Regions from separate parts of the Homo sapiens genome. Here regions 2, 3, 4 and 5 are each linked to region 1. The links are contacts of gene promoters, found by promoter capture Hi-C in blood cells and fetal thymus (Javierre and others, 2016). All regions are on one chromosome and are shown on one strand. Each heading gives the region's core, a stretch centred on a gene start or on the middle of the fragment in contact. The rest is flanking DNA. Distances are from core to core; before and after follow the strand shown. Region 1 holds the start of CCNB1IP1 (cyclin B1 interacting protein 1). Region 2 holds the start of ARHGEF40 (Rho guanine nucleotide exchange factor 40). Region 3 holds the start of SLC39A2 (solute carrier family 39 member 2). Region 4 holds the start of RNASE3 (ribonuclease A family member 3). Region 5 has its middle 34 kb from the start of RNASE3.

Evidence for each region. Contacts are between HindIII fragments. The CHiCAGO score rates a contact against its expected background, and 5 or more counts as called.
Region 2: the fragment with the promoter of ARHGEF40 here is called in contact with the fragment with the promoter of CCNB1IP1 in region 1 in 1 of 17 cell types (monocytes); the score reaches 5.6 in monocytes.
Region 3: the fragment with the promoter of SLC39A2 here is called in contact with the fragment with the promoter of CCNB1IP1 in region 1 in 1 of 17 cell types (monocytes); the score reaches 6.9 in monocytes.
Region 4: the fragment with the promoter of RNASE3 here is called in contact with the fragment with the promoter of CCNB1IP1 in region 1 in 8 of 17 cell types (neutrophils, total B cells, M2 macrophages and 5 more); the score reaches 12.2 in neutrophils.
Region 5: a contact is called between a fragment that was not itself captured here and the fragment with the promoter of CCNB1IP1 in region 1, in 15 of 17 cell types (neutrophils, total B cells, naive CD4 T cells and 12 more). The highest score is 15.6, in neutrophils.

The regions. Positions count from the first base shown.
Region 1 is chr14:20,330,491-20,335,584 of GRCh38, reverse strand. CCNB1IP1 (cyclin B1 interacting protein 1) reads left to right here and starts at 2,306. Exons shown (of 7, transcript NM_021178.5): 1 at 2,306-2,331. RefSeq lists an enhancer at 2,227-2,536. The HindIII fragment of the contact is 11,464 bases long and covers 1-5,094 here.
Region 2 is chr14:21,068,309-21,071,553 of GRCh38, reverse strand. ARHGEF40 (Rho guanine nucleotide exchange factor 40) reads right to left here and starts at 1,250. Exons shown (of 24, transcript NM_018071.5): 1 at 1,155-1,250. The coding sequence starts at 1,157. It also overlaps a transcript of NDRG2 not described here. RefSeq lists silencers at 1-227, 1,018-1,087, 1,098-1,317, 2,853-2,952 and an enhancer at 1-526. The HindIII fragment of the contact is 9,571 bases long and covers 1-3,245 here.
Region 3 is chr14:20,997,116-21,002,209 of GRCh38, reverse strand. SLC39A2 (solute carrier family 39 member 2) reads right to left here and starts at 2,917. Exons shown (of 4, transcript NM_014579.4): 1 at 2,649-2,917; 2 at 2,338-2,468; 3 at 2,044-2,094; 4 at 339-1,263. The coding sequence starts at 2,763. The coding sequence ends at 631. It overlaps LOC101929718 (a long non-coding RNA gene), which reads left to right and starts at 3,047. Exons shown (of 4, transcript NR_110139.1): 1 at 3,047-3,436; 2 at 4,396-4,530; 3 at 5,000-5,094. RefSeq lists enhancers at 1,659-2,858, 4,882-5,094. The HindIII fragment of the contact is 5,548 bases long and covers 1-4,133 here.
Region 4 is chr14:20,888,266-20,893,359 of GRCh38, reverse strand. It overlaps RNASE3 (ribonuclease A family member 3), which reads right to left and starts at 1,975. Exons shown (of 2, transcript NM_002935.3): 1 at 1,909-1,975; 2 at 1,012-1,678. The coding sequence starts at 1,673. The coding sequence ends at 1,191. The region is part of intron 1 of LOC100507513 (a long non-coding RNA gene); the gene reads left to right. The HindIII fragment of the contact is 4,045 bases long and covers 1-2,009 here.
Region 5 is chr14:20,854,967-20,860,060 of GRCh38, reverse strand. No RefSeq gene overlaps it. Among named protein-coding and RNA genes, the nearest start is that of RNASE3, 34 kb to the left of the region's middle. The HindIII fragment of the contact is 4,704 bases long and covers 778-5,094 here.

The DNA.
Region 1 (5,094 bases), core at 1,057-3,556:
CACTCTGTCACTCAGGCTGGACTGCAGTGGCACAATCTTGGTTCACTGCAACCTCCGCCTCCCGGGTTCAAGTGATCGATCCTCCCACCTCAGCTTCCTGAGTAGCTGGGACTACAAGCCCATACCACCATGCTCAGCTAATTTTTGTATTTTTAGTAGAGACGAGGTTTTGCCATGTTGGCTAGGCTGTGGGGTAATTTATTTTAAAAAAGAAATTTATTTTTTGCAGTTATGGATGCTGTGAAGTCCAAGGTTAAGGACTGCCTCTGGGTTGCATCTGAACTCCTTCTTGCTGGAGGGGACTCGCTGTGATGTTCCAAGGCGTGGCAGGAAATCACATGGCCAGGATGCTGAGACTGCTAACATGCTATCCTTAAGTCTCTTTGCCTTTTCTTTAAAGCCACTAGTTCCCCTCCCATGATAACCTATTAATCCATGAATAGATTAATTTATTTATGAGGGCAGAACCCTCATGATCCAGTCACCTCTTGAAGGCCCCACTTCTAATGAGGATTAAGTTTCAGCCACTTTAGGGATTAAGTTTCAACATGAATTTTGTAAAAGGTGAAAGATTTATGCGATATGAAGAGAAACTAGAGTGACAACATGAATTTTGAAGGGGACAGTCAAACCATAGCAACTGGGATCTGAATCCTGACTTTACCACTTGCTAAATAGACAAATTCCTTAATCTCTATAACTCTGTTTCCTTTTTTTTTTTTTTTTTTTTGGTGAAATAGTTATAATGAAAGTGCTTACATTCTTGGGTTAATGTGAAGATTAAACAAGGTAATGAATATTACATTTCTTGAATATTTATAGTAAACATTCAAGAAATGTTTTGACTCTAGAAGTTACAATAAATCAATTATGAAATAACAAATTAGCATTTGATGCTAAATGTTGGGAAATTTGGGGCAGGTAAACTCTAAAGTGGATTGGAATAGGTAATTTCTAGTAAGGTGGAAGCAGGGTGGATAGGATGAAATGATTAAAAAATGAGAACTACTATGAGTTAGAGTTGTATCATTTCTCCATATAACTTGAATCTTTATACTTCAAACATTTGCACATTACATGTATATTTGTACATATAACACATACTTGTATATATATTCCCTATTACTATAATAGTATTTATTAAGAATAATGATGAATATTGTGCCGGGGAGTCCTCTAATTATGGCTTAAAAAGAAATCTTTCAGCTTGGGCAACATGGCGAAACCCCATCTCTACAAAAAAATACAAAAATTAGCTGGGTGTGATGGTGCACGCCTGTAGTCCCAGCTACTTACTGAGGCAGGAGATCGCTTGAACCTGGGAGGTCAAGGCTACAGTGAGTCGAGATTTCACCACTGCACTCCAGCCTGGGACACGAAGTGAGACCCTGTTTCAAAAAAAAAAAAAATTTAACAGAGTAAGAACCTATACTTTAACTGGAGGGCGATGTGAGGAGTCAAAATAATTGATTAATCAATTATGTCCTCAGCATTGAAAGTCATTGTTTTTGTCTGGAGATGTGTAAAACGTACACTTTGATCTCCAGTTGTTTATAGTCTACTTGGGAATATAAATCTAACAAGAAATATGTAATAACAATAATAACAGCTAACATTGTTGAGTACTGTGTACCGGGCATTGTACTGAGTACATTATATAAATTATTTTACTTAATCCTCATAACCATCAGAGTAGGAAGATTTCATCTTTTTTCCCTCTTTTTATAGTTGGAACTGAGGCTTAGATGTGTGCAAATAAGTGGCAAGGTTCAGATTCAAAATCAGCTAAATTTTATTTGAAGCCTAAAACACTTAACCCACCTACCTTTTATCTACTAAGCCTGTTAGTTCAAAGATTACCTGAAGGTAAATTTTATCAGGCCAGCTTTGGATCTGGGGGGAAAAAATGAAGGTAAATTTTAACTTGAATCGATCTAGACTGTTTATAATGGAATCTGTTGCCTAGCATAAGTTAAGCATGTTGAGGTCACAAAGGATAAGAAATTACCCTTAAGGGATGAAAATTCTTTAGAATAGAATGCAGTAGGCCCACGCAAACAACAACGTGTATAAATAGCTTAAATTAGCCTGTTTTTGCCTAAGTACATTAACTCAAAAGGAAACTCGGTTTAAGAAGTTCACTCCAAAAATAGTGCAAGAAGCATCACTGGTCCATAAAGAGGGGTGGAGTGGGTTACGTCATTTCAGCACCTTTTAAGGTAAAGGAGGAGGGAATCCTCTTGAACTCATTAGCCAATCAGGTTCTGAAGACACTTCCCAAGGCGACTTCCTGTCTCTCCACTTTCTTTCCCTCTCCGTTTTGGTGGGCTGGTGAGTGTGCGCTTAATTTTGCTCTCTAATTGTTTTGAATTTCTCTTCCATTTGAGTTATATACCCAGGTGGCAGGCCTTTATTTCAAGTCGGCATAGGAGTGTGTGTGAGTCGCAAGGAGATTAATTTCGGCTGTGTGGAGGTTGGGAGAAGGCAGTGAAATGCTCTTCCTGGCTTGTTTCCACGTGGGCCTCTGCAGTACTGGGTTTGCCTTCCGTCTCCGAGTCCTGGTGACCCAGGAACAATAGACTGTGCTTCATGTGCACAGTGCGTGTGTTCTTGGAAAACGCCGGCTTCATTTTGCTTGGCGGGAAAGATATTATCATCCTAATGCTGTTTTGATTTATATCTCCCTGGGTGAGGTCAGATTTCGGGAGAAGGCGTTCAGCTCAGTAGAGTTTAATTCTCCGGTGAGTGTCTAGAGGGCCCAGGTCCTTACTGGGTTTGTGGAAGCTGCAGCGTACCTTGTCTTTCTCCTGGCCTTCGCTCAGATCATTTCGGCTTTCTTGGTGAACCTGGGCAGCAAACTCTGAAGACAGATAAGCCTTAAAAGGAGCTCCTAATTTTTAATGTTGCCACTGTGGTGATTGTGTCCTTAAAAGCTATGGAAAAAGATTAGGGACCTTAGTTCAGGGCAAGCCTCTAGATTTAAATTCCAGCGCCACAGTTTACAGCTCTGGTGACCTTGGGAGAAGCAGTGAGCCATTCCGAGGCTTAGCTTTCCAAGATCAGATAAAATATATAAAAACTAGGCTCTAGTTGGTGTGTAATAAATGTTAGGTACCTTTAGAAGTAAGCAGTACTTATTTATTTACAGCAAGTATTTTGGATATCTGTTTTCTCATAAAAAGTTTGCTTAGTGACCTTCAATGTCATTTCACTGAATTCCTTTCTTTTGGTACATGTTAATTTTAATGTGATGTTTGTGTTGGATATTCTTATAGGCAGAAAGTGTGAGAAAGACAAATAATAAACCAGTTAATCGAATGTAGTAATAGGTATTTGTAGGCCTCCCATAATTTTTATAATTCTCAAGCATTGTTAAAATTTATTTTTTGGGGCATGGCGGCGCATGCCTGTAATCCCAGCTACTCGGGAGGCTGAGGCAGGAGAATCGCTTGAACCCGGGAGGTGGAGGTTGCGGTGAGCCGAGATCGCGCCATTGCACTCCAGCCTGGGCAACAAGAGCGAAACTCTGTCTCAAAAAAAAAAAAAAAAAAAAAAAAATATATATATATATATATATATGTATACACATCATATATATATATATTTTTGAATAGGTAATACATTCACATGGTTCAAAATTCAAAAGATATCAAAGTTTCTTATCCCCTTCCCTAAGCCATCCAATTCCTCTCCCTCATAACAGTGTTACTAAGATATTTTATGCATATAAGCAAATATGTGTAGGTATCCTTCCCTTTTACTATACCTACTCTACTATGTGTCTTACTTTTTCCACTTAAGTTCCATGAGTAGAGTGTTCACATTCTTCATAATGGTAACATAGTATTCTTTAAAAATTATTTTTTTTAAAAAATATATTTTTTCAGTAGGTTTTCAGGGTATAATGGTAACTCAGTATTCTAATTTATGTACCTACTATAATTTATTTAGCTTTTATCAGTAGGTATTCAGATAGTTTATGATCTTGATATTTCCCCCTCAAATGAATAACCTTGTAAATCAGTCAGTTGGCATAAAGGCATTTCAATTGGGTTTTGGTATATTCTTGTTTAAAAGGACTCTAGATATTTTGCAGTGCTTCCTATTTATATTTATTTTGTACACGGTGGTGATTAGAAACCAATCAATACTCTAAACTTGATTGAGCAATAAAGGATTTTCTACCGAAAGGAAAATCATCTTGATGGCTTTTATGTGAATATATCTTTGCCCACTTTGGTTTGAGTGGGGATGGTTTATCTTGTTATGAGCATGTGTTTAATGCTGGGAAGGAGTGACAGCAGTGGCCCAGAACAACCAAGTCATCTTTGTATTCACAGGGGCAGAAAGGGCATGCTTTCAGTGTTTACTTAGAAAATGTGTGCTGGATATGCCCCTGAACTCATGGTGTTGAGGGCATATTTTAGTATTAAGTTAGGAAAAGCTGAAATGTATTTTAGGATGTAAACATGCAAAATAAAAAAGGAAGCCTTTGGGAATTTCTCCAAAGCTGTTTTAGTCTTAAGAGGCTTAGTTCCGGTTTTTTAGGTGGAAGTTTTGTGAGTTGGGAAAACATTACATTCTTTCCAATGGAAGCATGCTTTTGTTAATAAGACTTCATAATACATTGGAGTCTTCATTGTTAAGTAGGAAATGAGGGGAAGGGGGAAGCAAACCTGTGTCTTTTTTGCTTGAAGGACAATATGGCCGGGCGCGGTGGCTCACGCCTGTAACCCCAACACTTTGGGAGGCCGAGGAGGGTGGATCACCTGAGGTCGGGAGTTCGAGACCAACCTGATCAACATGGAGAAACCCCGTCTCTACTAAAAATACAAAATTAGCCGGGCGTGTTGGTGCATGCCTGTAATCCCAGCTACTCGGGAGGCTGAGGCAGGAGAATCGCTTGAACCCGGGAGGTGGAGGTTGTGGTGAGCCGAGATCGCGCCATTGCACTCCAGTCTGGGCAACAAGAGTGAAAAAAAAAAAGGACACAATATCTTGGAGTTGGAAGGGCCCTTATGAGTACTATATGAGTGACCTTTCTGGCTTCTGGGTTATTGTGAGAAGTGTGACTTTTTGTTGTTAAATTTGTTT
Region 2 (3,245 bases), core at 1-2,500, 740 kb before region 1:
GGGGACCAGAGAGGAGACCAGAGAGACTGAGTCAGCTCTCCCTGGCCCAGTTCCTCTTTCTTTTTCCTCCAGCCTCCCTGCCAGAGGGTGCCCTTCCCTCCGTAGAGGGGCGGCCCCAGTAGTGCCCCTGCCCCTCCTCCACTCCCTGCGGTGAGCTCCCCCTGGCAAGGCCTCTCCCCCTCCTCCACTCTGCAGCGAGCGGCCCCTTGGCCATGCCCCCGCCCTCTTTGCAGTGGGCGCTCTCTCTGGCAGTGCCCACTCTCGCAGCGGTGCTTCAGAGTACTCTGCAGTGAAAGTTCCCAGGGCAGTGTTCACTCCTGTTGGTGTGGGCTTCTCCTTAGCGTACCCTCCAGCGTCCAGCGCCCCAAGTTGCTGCTGCCAGGGTCCCCTAGTCCCTGCAGGGAGCTCCGGCTCGTGTTCCCTCCCCTCTGTAGCAGGAGTGCCCTGAGGCAGCCCTTCAGTTCCCTGCAGCAAGAGCTCTGGGGCACTTTCCTCCTCCGCAAACTCTGGTCGGCTCTGGCAGTGTCACGCCCCCTGGTACTGTGAGCTCCCCCCCAAGCACCCCCAACTATCCTGAGGCAGCTCTTTTTCTCTGCGGGAATTTCCCTCTTTGGCCATGCCCCGGGACCCGGCCCAGCCACAGCTGTGGCCAGTCCCCTAGGGCCGGATGGGTGGGCCTGCCTCACCGGGTTGGGGACAGGGATGGAAAATGGTGGTTCCATGCAGGTCAGTTCTCATGACCCGAGGGGCCGGGCCTCTTCCAGGGTCGCTGCAGGACCAACCCGCAGGGGTCTCCCGCGGGTAAGGAGCTCGGACCAGGAGGGGGAGGGAAGCTCCAGGAAAGGAAGGCACAGGTCAGGACAGAGGAGGGCGGGGAGCGGGGAGGTGTGTGGATTAGGGGAGAGACCCAAGGGAGGATGGGGGAGGAGGCGGAGGAGAGGAGGAAGAAAGGGTGAGGGCAATACCCGGTGGGGACAGAGCTAAACAGTCGGGCAGACAGACAAATCGAAGAAGGGGGGATGGGAGGGAGGAGAGTCCCAGAGGGGCCGAACAGTCCGAGGCAGGCTCGGGAGGCACCAGGCTGAGGACTTGGGGGCCCGGAGCGGGCTGCGCGAAGGCCGAGGGGACCCAGGGGGCTGCGACGCTGGACTCACCATGGCTCGGCGCCGGGCCGCGTCCGACGCTTGGTCGGGCGGGCGGGGCCGGGCGCGCCACCGCCTCCCTCCCGCCGCTCGTGTCTCGCCGGGTCTGGCTAAGGGACAGCTCCGGCCGCGGTGGCGGCTCGGCCCGCTCCGGCTTCCAGGCCGCGGGGCCCCGCCAGGGAGGGCCGAGACGGCCGCCCCTCCCCGCCCCGCCCTTCAGCGCCCGCCCCCGCCTCCGCGCGGGACCCCTTGCCGGGACTCTGTCTCCCGCGCCGAGATCTCTGCCGTTCCCCGGGCGTCCCCAGCCTATCCGTCCCGTTCACCGGCAACCTTCTTTCTTCTCCGCCCCGCCCTCCAGCGGGTAACCTCGACCCTGACCCTCGGAGGCCCGCCCAGCCGAGGATGCCCCTCTTTTCCCGCCACGGCCTCGCTCCCCGCGGGATCAGTTTAGCCTCGGCAAGGGATGCTCCAAAGGCTGGGGCGTGCGTGAATTCCCTTGGGCCGCCCCTTCCCAGAACTGGGGTCTTCCTGCGGCTGGAAAGCCTCCCCGCTCTAACTCGCCCGGGATCCTCTTCTCTCAACGGTTTCTAGACTTTGGCAGGACCCAGGGCTCAAATGAGACCTTCAGGCCCCTGCCTGCCTAGCAGAGAGCGGAGGGCCGGGAAATCAGGGGATTCCCCAACCCCCCGGGGGCTTGCCCGCCCTCCTTTCCCTCCATCTCCTCGGGCCTGGAATCTCTGGGCTGACAATGGGCTCCTCTGTGTTGCCTGGGGAAGGCGGGAGTGTGCGGGAGTTAGGGAGCAGCGAAGGCTTGGGATAGGGGGCGGACATCCTGGCCAAGGGGGCAGGGTTCCCGGATCGGGATGCTTATGTAGGGGCGTGCATTTCGCCGGACATTTTCTGAGTTCTCTCCTCCGTGGCCCTTCCCTTCCGCATCCCTACCTCTCTATTCGGCTAGAAGAGGGAAGGCACCAGGCCTCCAGTTCGAGGATTCGGTACTGGATGCCAGCCCCTTCCTTCTGTTGGGGTGGCTATAGAGTCCCGCAGGGCCGCTAGGGCTCGTGGCCATGGGAATGGGTGGGTATCTGGCGCAGGAGACAAAGCAGGGTGGGCTAGTTACGAAAGTTCTAGCCTCACTCCCTCATCAAACCCCGAGCGTCCCCCGACAGTGTCTGAATGAGAAAGGAAGGCCAGATGGGGGGTCTCCCAGGAGCCCGGGGGGAGGCACGGGCACGGCGGGGAGATGCCCTGCCTGGCCTCTGAGCAGGCACCGGGAAGCCCCGCAGCTCCGTGAGCTCTTCTAAAGGGTGGACGGAAGGGAGAGGAGAGGAGATCGGAAAGCCGAATAGTCCCCGGAGGGGCGTGAACGCGTGTGCCCCTGCAGCTGGAGGGCGATGATGAGAAAACGTCTGGCCTCGCCTGCAGTTCCTCGGAGGCCGGAGCCTCTGGGCAGTTGTTGGAACAGCGGGAGGGGAGGCGGGGGTGCCGCCAAGGTGACTTGCTCTTCTCTCACCTCCTCTGGACGCTAACCTCCACCTTTTTCTCCGCTCCGCTGAGCCTGGAAAAGGACAGAGCAAGTGTTCATCCTTCTTAGAGGCAAGAAGAGGCCTCTGCTCCATGCGTCAAAAAAGAACCTATGGCAACAAGCCCCGGTAACCATCTTCCCCGCACAGTTAGAGCCGTGGAGTTGGAGCTCTTTCTAACACCCGGCTAGGGGACCCTCGAGTCACCGACACTCTCCAGGTTCTCTATTACGAGGGCCCGCGAGCTAGGAGAGTGAGATTTTGCTACCCCCTGGTGTCCATTCCGTAAATACTGCCCAGGGGCGGGTTACAGGGGCCAGTGTTTAAAAAACCTTATTCACCTGTCTCAAACCTAGCTCATCTATTCTCGGTGTTGAGAGTGTCTGAACCTTTCCTCACCAGGCCTTCCATTCCTTAAACTGCAGCAAATTGTTTAGGGAACACTTGGTAGGGTCCAAGGTTGTCCATTGGACTCCAAGGCTCACTACTCTTAGGTAGTGGAATATAAATTAATCTGGCTATGGGGGTCCACAAACTCCTGGAAAAAGGGAGTGGATCATTTTTTTTTTTCATGGAGAAA
Region 3 (5,094 bases), core at 1,668-4,167, 670 kb before region 1:
GACATGTTATCGGTGGCTGATAATGGGTACTGGGAATGGGGTGGTTATGGTAAGTGTAGGAACATAATCGATCCACGTCATTTTGGCTTTTAACTTTCTTTCCTTTTAAATGCTGGGAACTGGCTCATTTTCTCAACTACAGTGGGTAAGGTGGGAGGGGAATTTTAGCAAGGTGCCATGTCTAGGGGTGTGGCTGCAACTGACAGGATGGCTAGGAGCCCTAATTCCAGAATAAAATACTGCATTCAACACTCATCCTTCCCATTCCCCATTCCACCACTTCCTGTGCCAGGTAGCATCTAGGCAACCAGGAGAAATGAAATCCAGAATGGCTGAAGGAGGGTAAAATGGGCATTTTATTACACACAGTAGCATAAATGGGATAAGAATAAAATCTGGAGCGTCTCTGTACCAATTCTCCAATTAATAGCTGCTCAACCTAAATATCTTTGTCTTAGTCCAGGGTGAGAAATGGGATCTCATGTAAAGGAAACCTGGGGTCCAGTCCAGTCCTACTGAATGCTATTTAGTCTGAGTAAAGAAATGTCTGAGGGTCAAAGCCATTTGGGAGGTCTCCCTGGGGATAGAGAGGTTGTCCTAAATAGGTCCATCAGAAAAGCCAGGAATCTCTCAGGCCCACAAGGCAATAAAGGCCATGAAGGCAAAACCAGCGGCTACACAGCTCCACTTAGCTAGAGGGGCCTCAGGACTAGCTAGCTCCCGTGGAAGAATTTCTAGGAAGGTGACATACAGGAAGGTACCAGCTGCCACACCCTCTAACACAGCCTGGGCTAAGCCCCGCCCTCCTTCAGAGTCCCCTCCAGTCACAGCCAGCCCTACGGCTAGGCCCAGGGGGGACATGAGAGCTAATAATAGTATGGAGAACACTGCCCATCGTGAGCTGGTACCTAAATGCACTAGCCGCATTCCTACACCAAACACCACAAGCCCCTTATGAGCCAGGACAGCAAGGCAGAGCTGCACGGTAGCTGCTACTGTCGGCTGCAGCCCCACAGCTAGCCCTTCAAACACTGAGTGAAAGGAGAGTGACAGCAAGAGGACAAGGGCTCGGAGGGGACCCTTTGAGGGTGAGGGTAAATGTCCATGGCTGTGGAGTTCGAAGATATGAGCCCCACCCCATTCTTCGTCCTGCACTGTCGATCCTCCAGCAGCCCCAGGACAGCACTGCAATGCCAGCGACTCCAAAAAGAAGACAAAAAAGAAGCCCAGGGAGATGATGAGCTCTCCATAGGGATACTCCATCTAGAAACAAAAAGAAGGGCTGTGAGATGGAAAGGAAGGGTAGGCAATACATTGGATGGACATGGAATTGGGAGATTGAAGAGAATGAGAAAATGTGGTAACAGAACACAAAAAAGGGTAGGGGAAATGAAGCCAAGAGTAGACATGGCCATGCAACAACAAGAATGCCAGAGTGGGCCGGACACAGTGGCTCATGCCTGTAATCCTAGCACTTTGGGAGACTGAAGTGGGCAGATCACTTGAGGTCAGGAGATTGAGACCAGCCTGGCCAACATGATGAAACCCCGTCTCTACTAAAAATACAAAAACTAGCCAGGTGTGGTGGCACGTGCCTGTAATCCCAGCTACTCAGGAGGCTGAGGCAGGAAAATCACTAGAACTCGGAAGGCAGAGGTTGCAGTGAGCCGAGATTGTGCCACTGTACTCCAGTCTGGGCGACAGAGAGATTTCATCTCAACAAACAAACGAAAAACAACAACAACAAAAGACTGCCAGAGGGGCTAAGGGACAGAATCTCAATAGAGTTAAAAACATGGGCAAATGATGTGAGGTATATCAGAGGATCCAGGGAAAGAATGAAAGAGTAAAACAAGGGCTTTCCCTGGCATTCTATAAACTCAAAAGGATTGGATTTGCTCCTCTTTTCCTCTACGATGTCTGAGCTAGGGAGCAGAAGGGATTCTTGGTACTCCTCATGTATTCCTCTCAAAAGGGTCTGGATATGAAAGGCCTCTCTGGTTCTCCTCACTCTCCAGATAGGGGATGGTGGGAGGTACTTACATGAGCTGAATCAGCATCACCAGAAGAATTTCTCTCACTTGCTGATCTGTTCTAAGAAGAAAGCAGCAGAAATTAGATGTGGGATGGAGCAGCACAGCTTCCTGTGCTGTCCCTTCAGCAATTCTGTTTTCCTTAAAGCCTAATCTGACTTGCTTTCACCATCCCACACAAGAGCTGTCATTTTCCTTGTCGTTCCACCCATGTCCTTGGCTCCATCACTTTCCCGCTCTCTTCCCTTTGTCCTGTTTATCATTTTGGCCTCATAGACCTGCGGCTTGAAATCTCTGCTCTCACCTGCACCATGAACTTCTGAATCTGTGATTCAATTTCCTCCAGGGCTTCAGCAGTCATATGCATGAACCCTGCTCCCAGGAAAACACCAGCAGAAATACAGCCCAGGAGTCTGAGGACTAGCCGGTGATGACCTAATAAAAAGCAGAAGTTACAACCCACTTGACACTGAGGAGACAGACAAAGGTGAGTAAAGAGCAGCAGGCAGCACTCAATATCCCAAGGTTGGGGATGGTGAGAGAATCAGAGCAAGGTATCAGGACAGGGTTGAGGTGAGACTCAGGCTATGGAACAAAGATGGGGTAGGGCTATACCTCTGGCTGCATCAATCTGGAACCATTTGAAGCAGATGGGAGTAAGGCCACAGCCCAGAGTGAGAGCCAACAGGGCAAACAGGCAGCCAAGTTTTATTCCTAGTAGTTGCTCCATCTCTGGGGTGTAGGGTAAGCCCAGGAGTCAGAATGACAAGGGAGCTGTAATCTTTGGAGCAGGAGTGGTATCTTAGGTGGTCAACACTGGAGTGTCCACTCTCGTGAGTTTCAGGAGGCTGTTGGTATCTTCTTTCTGTGTTGCTTCTGCTTCTGCAGCATTGCAGAGCTGACAGATCCTGCCCCAGCTTCTAGCCCTCCCCCTGCATGGAGGCCCCTCCCCTGGTTCACGCCTTCCTGAGCTTGGAAACCAGAAACTCCAGACTCCCTGCCAGGCACAGCCCAGTGGCGTCTTCTCCTCCTCTTCAATGGCATGACTAATCCAAGAGCTACGGATAGTCTTAGTTCATGTGCTTGGGGTTGGTCTAATCCAAAATAGGAAAGTCTATGGTAGCTGCTTCCCAGCTATTTTGTACTGGGGACAATCTGGTCCTGTCTCACTCAGGACGTTTGATCTAAGCCTTCCATACCCTCTCCACCTCATCCCAAGTCTTATAGGTTGCAATGCTGATACTTGAACCACCCGCTTTCAGAGATTTGGGGCCACCTGGAGGTAAAGAGGTGGGGCTGAGAGGTGGTGCTGGTGCTACTCTGTGGGAACTAGTACCCACATGAGGGAACTACCCTTTCCTGTAACCCCAGAAAAATAGCTCCAGGCATGGAAATGTCTAGTGGTAAGTTGATTTGTTTTTTTTCTTTCTCTTTTGATTGGGATCAGTTTTGAGAGGAATGAGTTGAGATGTCTGGTATTACAACATTTATACTGTTACAACTTCTAACTGTGCCTGTTTCCTGGTAAGAACTGTGGAAAAAAAGACATTTAAGGTTTAAGACAAAGGAAGCTGCTCTAGCCCTGAAACAGCAAGGCTTAGGGGAAAACAGAAATGAACTGAGTGAATGGGAGGATTCTACCTGGATATAGAGAGGTGGGGGTAGAAGATTCAGTTCTGATGGGAATCACTCTTGATGGAAATGTCTGGGGCATTTCCCATACATACTCTAGGGTAGCTGAGGGACCCTGGGAAAGACAGAAGGGAAGGCGTTAGTACAAGAGGCCAGGCAGCTGCTGATTCCCCTATTCAGGTGGCCCACATAACAACCCTGAGACCTGTTGAGCCAGTTCTCAGAGCTCTGGAGGCAGCTTTCCTTGCTACTCCAGATTATTTTCCTAGGGAAGTCCTGGCCTCTGGTAGAAGCAGTATTCTTACAGTGTTACTGGATGATTCTTACAGTGTTACTGGTCCTGCTGCTTGTTCTTGTGGTCCGGTAATGAGATGCAGACAGACAGACTGGGAAAGACGGGAGTTTATTTCTGCAACTGATTACAGGGAGGTCGGAGTAGCACACCAGACCAACTCAAAGTTACAAGCTTTTCTTTAGCTTTTATATACAATTCAAGCTCTATGACTACCTGCGGGAATGTTTCCTAATTAATCTAAACTAGGGGTCTGCAGGTAGAAGTTTTTTTTTTGTTTTTTAGAAACAAAGCAATAAACGATTTGATTTAGAAATAAAACCATTCCCATTATTGCAGCATTATCATCAGTCACTGATTGCTAATGCTGTTTACGCTTCTTTTTCCCTGGGATGTCTGAACCTGGCAACTTTTCTTCCTGTTCTTCTATTTTCTTAGCAAACCCACATCAAGGGTGTCTGTTCGCGTTTGAAATTCATCGGCACCAGAAAGAGCTAACATGTTGGCAGTATCTAGAAAACCATCAACATGAGCATGGGACAGTTCGCTTTGCAGCTGATCCCACCATAGTGAGTGAGTACTTGCAGACAGAAGTTTCTTAATCTTAAGTTGGTCCTGGGATGGGTTGTATGTGCAGGAATGCTTTTATCACTCAGCTAGATCTGAGGTAGAGAAAGTATAGGTGGGGCTTTAAAGGGCTTGCTTTTTTTGTATTCTGGCTTTCGTACTCAGGCACCAGTTTCCCCCGATTCCTTATCCATTTTTCTTGCTTCTGCTTTAATGTTTAACTTGTACATTCATCATTATAGCAAAGGGCTTATGGAAATCTGGTTTTTCTACTTCTGCTTTAATGATCAGCTTACACATTCATCATTACAGCGAAGAGCTTATGGAGCTCTGAACTGCCACAATAGGAGAGGGCGAGCTTGAGATTTGTGTGGGAAGCCTGGCACCAAAAATCTGAGGAAGCTCTTCATTACAGGATAGGCCAGGATAATTAACTATACCTTTTACATGTTTTTTTTTTTTTTTTTTTTTTAAGGGAGGACGTCTTGCTCTGTTACCTATGCTGAAGTGCAGTGTTACAATCAAAGTTCACTGTAGCCTTAACACCTGGGCTCAAGTGATCCTCTTGCC
Region 4 (5,094 bases), core at 726-3,225, 560 kb before region 1:
CCCTGTTTCTCATGGATTCCTGAGTGAAGCCCTGTGTTGGAGTCCAGGGCAGCGGCTCTCATCATCCATTTCTTCTCTCTCTGGGTCTACAAATCCTGAATTCTCGAGGCTGTGCCCTTCCTGACAGGTGTTGAATGAACCTTTGACTCGCCATTGGGAACATCTATGGAGGGCAGAATGGGCAGGAGCCAACTCACCTTCATGAGTGCTCCCACTTCCTCCTCCTCCTCCTCCCCCTTCTCCTTCCCACGTGACCAGCGGCTCCCCATCTCCAGGACATGGAACTTTTGGGAAAGATGTCCACCTCTCCTCCAGTCAGCATTACAATCTGTCCTTACTGCTGTCGGAACAATTTATCTTATTGCACATTTGACTCAAACCCTGGTTCCACCTCTATTACGATTGCTAATAGCTGGAGACTTGATGTGCCCATTTAAAAGAAATATCCCTGAGGCTAAACTTTTCTTTATCTTGGTTTCACCTTATTTATAGCATTCTTGACTTTTTCTACTTTCTTCTTTTCTATTTTCTATCATAACGTTCAATTCTATCAAAATTTATCATTCATAAATCATAATGAAGCACGTGCATTTTCAGCTGATTCACTGCAGCTCTTTTTTTCTTGGGATAGAAATCATGTCAATAAAAACCATAGTCGGACCATAAAGCATCAAATGGGACCTCAATATCAAATTGGGCTCAATTCTGGAATACAACTAAAACAAGTGGAGATCTATACACAAGTTATAGGTTGGTGTTGGGGGAGGAGTCAGTGGATGGAAAATTGCTTAGAGGAGATATTAAGGCTAGGGAGACCAATGCTAAGTTGACTCAATTGGATTTTTTTTTAAGGCAGGCCTGGAATCAGGTATCACATGAAGGATGATGGGGGAATTAAGGAATTTGGTCAGATATTGAGGGGGAGAGATTCATGATAAACCCAAATCTCTAGAGCAGATTGTCACTAAATGACAGCAGAGCGGCCGAGGAAGACACACAGACACTTCCAGATGAATTTGCAAAGCAGTTTATTGCAGGGTTCACAAGGGACTTCAGCTCAGGAAAGCTGAAGGGGTATGGAGACTGATGAGGACAGTTGCTGATACCCAGAGTACATGGAGGGATGGGATCTTGGCTATGATTGAGGAGCTTGGCAGATGAGTGATGATGAGGACTGCTGATACAGGAGCTTAGATGGTGGTATCCAGGTGAACTGGAACCACAGGATACCGTGGAGAATCCCGTGGATCTCTGTTGTCACATGCAACTACATAGAACCTCCTTCCTGGTCTGTCTGCATACGTGCAGTTTGAAATATTCTGTGCACCTGGATTTATGAGGTCACAGTGGAGTAAAGGCACCCGGAATCTACTCCGATGACAATTGTTGAGAGTTCTGTTATGAGGGCAGCGTATACTTTGGTTACCACAAACATTAACTACATTAGCAAAAGTTGTACGAAGAAAAGTATTTTGGTTTTTGCAACGCCATCGATAATTGTTAATTGCCCGCATTGCAATGGTGCATCGAGGGGGGTTCAGACTGATGTGCTGGATGGCAAACCACTGAGCCCTCGTAAACTGTGGGGGTCTGGCATGGAGTGAGCCCTCCACACCCATAAGCCCCAACAGAAGAAGCAGACAAATTTGGGAAGTGAACAGTTTTGGAACCATGTTTCCTGTAAGAAAAGAAGAGAAGTAACTACTCCCCGATCCGGTCTCGGTTATGACACACTCTATAGTGTCTCAACCCACAGGCCCCTCTGCTGCCACTCTGGGGTCGCATTTCCTTTTCTTCCTGTCCCCAAAGTGTGCCACATCTCCTAAGCACTAACTTCAGCTCACCTCTCCCTCAGGTGCTGCCCTGTCGCTGCCCCTCCTGTCCCAGCTCTGGGGATTGTTGACTTACCCAGTCTCTGAGCTGTGGCTCCTGTGAGAACTGATCCAGCTGGTTGTTCTGGGGTTCAGGGGCAGCTGGTCTCCCCTACTTGGAACTGTTTAAATAAAGCTTCCCTTGGTGGGTCTGGCCATGCAGAAACCCACAGATTGACACATGGTCCACTTGTGCAATCATCCTTTTTATTTGATGACTTGGCTGAGCAACGGATACCCAAGGACAGCCCTGCTGCTCTTTCTGCTATACGGACTCTAATTCCAAGTCATCCTGTGTTAGACAGAGTTTTGCCGGTGGGATCTGGACTCTGGGTGAAAACTATACGCTGCCGGCAGAATGACCACAGATTTTATAACTGTCCTCTGGCAGGCCCCTAAATGACTAAATGACACGAAGGCAGGCATAGTAGTTAGGAGAAATAGAGCCACAGAGGGCTGTTTGCCCAGGAGAAACCCAGCTTCCCTTCCATTTTTAGTAATATCCTTGGTTCTCTCTCACATAAATGCTCTCCATCTCATCCACCACTCTTGCTGGAAACTTGAGCTATTAATTTCTTGGGGCACAAGATTCTGTAGATAATTAAAACAATCTGCTCCATACAATTGAGGAATTTTTTTCTTTACTCCTCTTGCATTGGATCCACTTTCTCTTAAGTCTTGCCCTGATTATTGATTCCACTTTGTGTAAAGTTACATAACCTAAAAACACACCGAGGACAGTTGTAAAATCTGGCAGAGGATGAATGAACATTTGGTGTCATGAAAGATTCCAACCTAGCACTCGGTATTCCTGTGATCTTTTCAGCCTATGGTATTTTCTACAAAACAGTGTGTTCTGGGGTTGTCATTCATCTTCCTGGTAAGTTTCATTTTGTGATATTAACAAGAATATGGTTCTGTATTTACAAATGAACATTTAAGGACAGAGCACTGTATTCCTGAAAGTATAGAGGTCAAGTGTACAGTTTGATACACAAAGCATACATTTATTCTTGGCCCTCAGAGAAACACAGGAAAGTACTTGTAGACATATAATTGTATTACAGTGTGATAGAGGTAATAGCATTTGTGTGAACATGGTGTCATAGGGACACTGCTGGTGAAGGAAATCACTTGGCTTGAGAAATAAGGAAAACTTCAAAAAAAAGTTTATTTCAGCAGGTCCTAAAGGATAAGCAGGGGATTTTCAGGGGATTTAGAGAAGAGATGAGCATTCTGGGCACAGGGGATGATGTGGGGAAATTGTACAGAGGTGAGAAGTGAATTGCAAAGGTAAGGCCTGGGTACTAACAGATGTTAAATCTGGTCTAGCTTTGAGATTAGAAAATGGAAAGTAGACCCTTAAATGATATAATATACCTTCCAACAGTTAATCTGCCTAATTTTTACTACCGTCCAATTTTCCTGTCATTTAGAAATGCAATAATTTTATCACTGGGGTCCTTAGGTAAATGTGGACACAATGGTGACCTGGTGAGGACTCAATGCGCAGCTAATATTGCTCTGCCTTGAAGTCCTGTTCTGGCCGACATTCATTAGCAGCTTTATCATGAGGCAAGTTTATTTTTTCATGTATATTGTGTGGAGATCATTTTTGTAGGTGATGAGAATGTAAAGGTGAATGATACGTAGAGTATCCCCTCTGTGATGCTGACAGCCACACTGGCTAGAAACATTTGCACTTAAGTGTCTATAGTATGAGGCAAAAGACATAGACTGCAGCCCCAGGGCAGGTACTTGGCTAAACAGTGCTTCTTTTCAGCATACACAGTGCTATTTATGATGTTTGGTTTGGAAGATAAAGTTTGACATTGGAATAGTTCACTAAAAGTTTTCATTACTGTCTTATCTTTAAAAATCACATGATGGTGGTTGGTGCACCATTGGTGTTGTATCAATTAGAGCTGAGTAACAGCTGCGTCTGTGGAAGGGGCTCTAGCTCAGGGCTGTTCTCTGACTCCACTCTCCCTCCTGACTTTTATCCTATCTGTTCAGTGATGACACCTGCCTGGCTCCTGAAGACATCTGTGCTTATGACATATCAGACTTATTGAAGTGTCTTAAGCAGACCATAACCTGCCCAATTTGCAACCATATTCATCCTTTAAAATTGTGGAGTTTTTTGTTTTTTGTTTTTTTTTGAGACGGAGTCTTGCTCTTGTCACCCAGGCTGGACTGCAGTGGCGTGATCTCACTGCAACCTCCACCTCCGCCTCCCAAGTTCAAGTGATTCTCCTGCCTCAGCCTCCTGAGTAGCTGGGATTACAGGCGCTCGACACAATGCCCGCCTAATTTTTGTATTTTTAGTAGAGACGGGGTTTCACCATGTTGGCCAGGCTGGTCTCAAACTCCTGACCTCAGGTAATGCGCCCACCTCGGCCTTCCAAAGTGATGGGATTACAAGTATGAGCCACTGCTCCCAGCCATAAAAATTGCATTCAGAACATGCTCATAAGGTTTTTCTGATTGTCCCTTGTGTAGATTTCCTGCGTACATTTCCAACTACCTTCATTTGCCAGCAGAAGTAGTACAAATGATCTACTTTGATATTTATGACCTTTGAGAGAAGATGTTTTATATGAAGCAGGAATAAAGTATAAGTCAACATTAAAGAAAATTATCTGTTATGATCTCTGTAATCGAAACAAAATTCTCTGTAACTTCAGCATGATTTTGTCTTGAACAGACACAAGGCACTTCACCCGGGCTCTTTATTTTATTAGCATAACTTGTCTTGCAGCCTAATTTAACGACACATTTTCAGACCTGATCCACACTTCCAATGAGAGGAATAGTCAGAATTACGCCCTAGTGTTAAGTCATTTTTTGGAAACCGATGAACATTGTAAAATATTATCCCAGACAAAGACTTCTGCATTTGTGGTAAAAACCACTGTTGAGTACACTGCATTGATCAATGTCTTTTTTGCATAGCATTTATGTGCAAAAATATAATGTTCAATGCTTGCAATTTCTTCAGCCCCAGGGTACCCTTGCAATATTTGCTCTTAACCTGCTGACAGGGAGGTACCAAACCATCGATACCTTCCTGCACACAGATTTCCCTAATGCAGCAGTGGCTATCTATGGGAAAGACAATGCACACTATTTACTAGGTTGGTGCAAAAGTAATTGCGATTTTTGCCATTAAAAGTAATACAAGATTGTCATAATAATATGGTGCAGGTTAATTAAATTGCAG
Region 5 (5,094 bases), core at 1,880-4,379, 520 kb before region 1:
AAAAATTAACATGTTATTTAAAATACTGACTCCTTAAATCAGACATTCTGAGGTCCTCTCCAGCCCTGCAAATCCCCTCTTCTTACTATAGTGGAGGTGGCACATTCACCTAGAATTTTGGGCTCCTCTTCTGAGTAGTAGGTGATACTAATAGAAGAATATTTGGAATTCCAGGATTTGCTCAGAGAACTCTTGGCTAATTTTTATGGGGTGAATCTACTTCTTTCTCCCAGTGCATCCTCCTCAAGAAAAATGCTTCACCTACTGGATAACTAGAATTTCCTCTTTGTTGTCTTTCAGAAGGCTGCTTGGTAACACACACTAGTCAGGAAACCACTACTTTTGAAACAATATTTTTCTCCAAGAATTATTATTATTGACTCTTCCCTTTGTCTTCTGTCATTCTTAAGAAGGCAAAGCTAGGTTTTAGGAGGAAAGCTTGGGCGTTGTCTGAAAACAGATACAGATATCATTAAAAGTCTTGTGGGACCTAAGCAAAGTGCCTGTCCCATCTGAGCCACTAAGAAGCAATACCATGGCCTGTATTAGCTGCAGAAAGGCCCTTAAAAATAAGGCAGTCAGTACTAGAAAAGGCAAAGGAATTTGTTAAGCTGCCACTGCAAGCAAATGACAGGACAGAAACCAAACCCAGGGTGCTCTGCCCGACTAGTTCCATGACTATATGGGAAATAAAGCCACATATACAAAATCACATGGTGTATATAGCTGTGAAAAAGCTAGCATGACATTAGCTTTTTTAGGTAACAAGGCTAAGCTTATTGTCAGACCTGATGCATTTTCATCTTTTGATGCATATGAACTTTCTTTTCTACAGGATTAGGGGATAGAGAGAGGTAACTACAGAGTATGCCCACTATTCTATGGAGAATATTTCCTCTTTAGGTTTGCTGTGTCCAGAGTCTTAGCTTTAATTTAATTAAGAGATCACCAGGAAAAAGACACACGTATTCATCCATGTCTCCCTAGCACCTGGATCTGCATTTGACATGAGGTGGACTTCTGTGTTTATTATTCCCCATCTTCCTATCCAGCTGGAAAGTGGGTCTTACCTCTGTGTGTAAAACAAGATCTATCACTCCCAAACCACATGTGCACACACACACACACACACACACACACACTATGAACTGAGTGCCCACAGGAAAGATACTTATTGGTCAGTCATCCTTACCCAGCACACTGGACACCTGGATTTAAGTAAGTTCATGATGATGGAGAAAATGGAGAAAGTGAATTGAATTATTTGTAAGTCCATGCTTATGGAAAAATGAGGAAAGAAATAGAATTATTTAGTCTGAAGCTCAGAAAGTGAAGACTTTAAATCATACTTACCATGCTTACAAGGGTGATTGTAGGATATAATATAATGAACAAGAATAAATCTTTAAGACAGGGACAGATCATGCTTGAACATGTTATTTAGGTCAAGAGATCTCCATCTTCACTATAGACTAAAGGAGAAGAGATGAATGTAAACTAGGGAGGCTTAGACAAACCTAGGAAGTTTCCAGGGAATCTGCTGTCTCTAGACTTGACAAAGGGGCAAAAAACACCTCTCTCTTTACTCTTCTGATTCTTTGTATCCATTGGAGGGGGAAGGTGGACTGTGTCACTGAAGACCTTTCATCTCTGAGTCACAGTAAACATCCCAAGAAAGCAGTCCAAAATGATATCCTGAGAAGTCTACTTGAAGTCAAGTAAAATAATAATTAATGTGTACAACTATATCCTAGGCTTAACCTCAAACCTGTGTAGCTAAATGGGAGAGTTAAGAGAAGGGAGAAAAGGTGAAAATCGTACTGTGTTAGCATCCGGCCACCAAATAGAGGCAAATAAAGGAGATACTTGCTTTTTAATCCTGGTGCCAAGGTCTCTGGATAGAAAAGGCTGGTGTAAGTCAGGTGTTGTGGGAGGAATTTGCCTCTGAGGGATGGACAGTGGTTCACATGGCCAGATCAGGCAGCAGATGTGTGCCGATGCTGGCGAAGCCTTCGTCCTTACAAGAGACAAGTCAAAGAGACCCGAAGTAATGAAGAGAATGCAGAGGGTGGAGCCTCCAGCAAGCACGAGTTGAGGAGTAGTCTGGGGTTGTGAAGATGGGTATTTTTACAAAAGCAACCACATTTGAATTTGTATCTTTGATGAGAATTTTTGCACACTGAGTCTTGATGTCCTCAAAAAAGAAAATACAATAATAGGAGAGCGCCCCCTGCCGGCAAGCAGTGAGCTAGGCATCTCTACCTCTGAGCCTGATTGACCCGGCTCCCCTTCCTCGGTTTAGAAGGTGCACAGAAACCTTAGCTGAGCTGCTTCTGTTTCATTCTTGAGGGCGTGGGGGTTTTCATGGCGGTCCGGATCTTCTGTGCCTGGAGTCAGCCTAGGTTCACCATGCTGCCTCTCCTCTGCATTTTTCCTCCCCTCCAACTTCGCCCTCAGTCTCTCTCCAATCTCAACTTTGCCACACTTTTCAAGAGGCAATTTATTTTCACCAAATTTCAGGGTTCTCAAAAGACAGTAAGATTAAGTTTGGCTTCATACACTTCCTCCTTTCCATTCTGCAGATATCCTAAGGAATTGCAAAAGGGTCTGGCTCTCTGCTTGGAACTAGAGGCATGAGGAAAATACAAAGAGAAGAAAGAAAAAGTAGTATCTCAGCAAACTATCCTGCCTCACATATGTTCTTTAATTTTCTTGCTGGAAAATCTCTGGGCCCTGTCTCTATGCTCTTTCCATCTCAGGGTCCAGAATAGGGAGAATATGAAATTATATCCATGTGGGTGTAATATCAAATTTACCTTGAACCCCAGTATTAGATCCTGACTTGCAAAGACAATCTCTGAAAAGGTAAAGGGGTCTGTATGTTGGGCGCCTCAGTTGCTCTTTCCTGGCCTAACTTAAAGAAGGGCTTTGAAGTGTGTGTGGTGTGTGTGTGTGTGAGAGAGAGAGAGAGAGAGAGAGAGAGAAAGAGAGAACCTTAACTGGGAAAGGGGCTGATTTTTTTGATGATTATCTCTTCCTCAGTCTCAATGTGGATGGGGAAATTTCCACTGTGTGGTAGCATTCGTGAGAACCACCCTTTCTACTCATTGCCAAAAGTTAGAAGTTATTGTTGTACAGATTTTTGTTAGTTGGGAAACAAGATAATTCTATAAAAATGTGGAATATTTCTATTAGAATCATTTAAAAAACAAATGCCCTTAGACTGTGTCTTTTTGCTCTCACTACTATGTGTGATCATGAATTCACAAACACTCCTGATTTTTCTGAAGTAGTGGTCTACAAACTCTAACATAAACCAGGATCTCCTGGATTAGCATTCTCTAATAAGCTGGAAGTTTATTAGGTAAAAACACAAAAATACGTGAGGCCTACTACTAATAATACAAGTCAGAGTATCTCCAGATTATTGACTCTGGGATGTCCAAGTCAGTACACATTGTTGAAGACAGAAACACACTTGTGCTACAATAAAATGTGAGCCATGTAATACAATAGATTAGGGGCCAGCCTGGCCAATATAGCAAAACCCCATCTCTACTAAAAATACAAAAAATTAGCCGGGTGTGGTGGCGCATGCCTGTAATCCCAGCTACTCAGGAGGCTGAGGCAGGAGAATCGCTTAAACCTGGGAGGCGAAGGTTGCAGTGAGCCAAGATCGCGCCACTGCACTCTAGTCTGGGTGACAGAGTGAGACTCCATCTCAAAAAAAAAAAAATAGATTAGGGGATATGAAATATCTGAAAGGAAGAAAAGGAGCCAAGAAAAGGAAAGGAGGAAAGAAGAATACAAGGGGATACAAACAATAAGCACATGAGAAGATGAAGTTTCCAGTGTGGCAGATACTCTCTTCCTTCCCTAATGCCTGGAATCTGGCTGTGCGTGGAGAAAGATGAAAGGCTCTGTCTAGTGAGTCCACTGGACTAGAAGCTCCCTGGGACTAGGTTATGTGTTTTGCATCTCCAGTACCTAGCGGTCTGCCTGGCACAGAGTCTATGCTCAGAAAGTGTTTCATTGATGAATGGAGAGACAGGTAGTACATTAGCATGCTGAGTTTGCAAAAAGTCATTAAATGTGTAAATTAGAATGTTCTACCAATTATATGTTATACTACCCTCTGTTCTATATCTCAGTGATCGTCTGTCTGAATTTCCCGCTTTGAACACTAGATGTCCTCTGGGACTGACACCATGACCAGACCCTAGCGATTCAAATCTCTCACCAGCGCTCTCCTGCTGAGGGCTGGGTCCTGTTTCAGAACTTCTGTCAATGGACTGCTCACTGAAACATTACCCTGGCTCCCACGTGACTTATAGCGTTAGCCAGTGCTTGAAACCTACTCCCCCACTGGGTTGGTTCTTCTAGAATTCTGATATTAGCCTCAATCTACTAGGCATTTTACTTTGGACTGCTGACCATCCACCTTGGGAATGAGCTCTTTAGCCAGTTCAGTCAATCCTACCAAGAACTGGCTTCTTCCTTTACTCAGTGACCTATCTCAAGGGTTTCCATGGGACCAAGAGTCATGTGGGAGCATGACAGAGGGAGTGTTGGAAGATGCATTTGTATCTTCAGTATCCTAATGCATCCTCTGGAAATTGGTGGTGTGATGGAATGTTTGATTCTAATTCATACTAATGTATGGCTACGATAGTTACCATGCCTTTACAAAGGGCAATCTGAAAAGTCACTAGGACCTTCTAAGAGAGTTAAAATGGAGCCATTTCTCTCACTTGGTTTGTGCTTCTTTTCCTCTCCTGAATAGTGAATTTCAAAGTTCTTTCATTCCTCTTTACTTTAGAAGACAATGTTGTAGGACCCCTAATCCCGCAAGGTGCTGTAAAGGGGGAGAAAGGGGTCAAGTAAATTTACTGATTAACATTAGTCAATAGTTACCACCTTATGAGGCTTTAAAAAGAATAACCAAAATAGACACTGAAACCATTCTGAGGAGGTAAAAGTAAATAAAGCCGTCTCCCCCGTGACCTTCATTTCATTTCCATTTTGTTCTCCTGATAGTGATTTTTAAGGGTCCCTAATCCTCTTGTATCCTAGAGGGCCAATACTACAGGAACA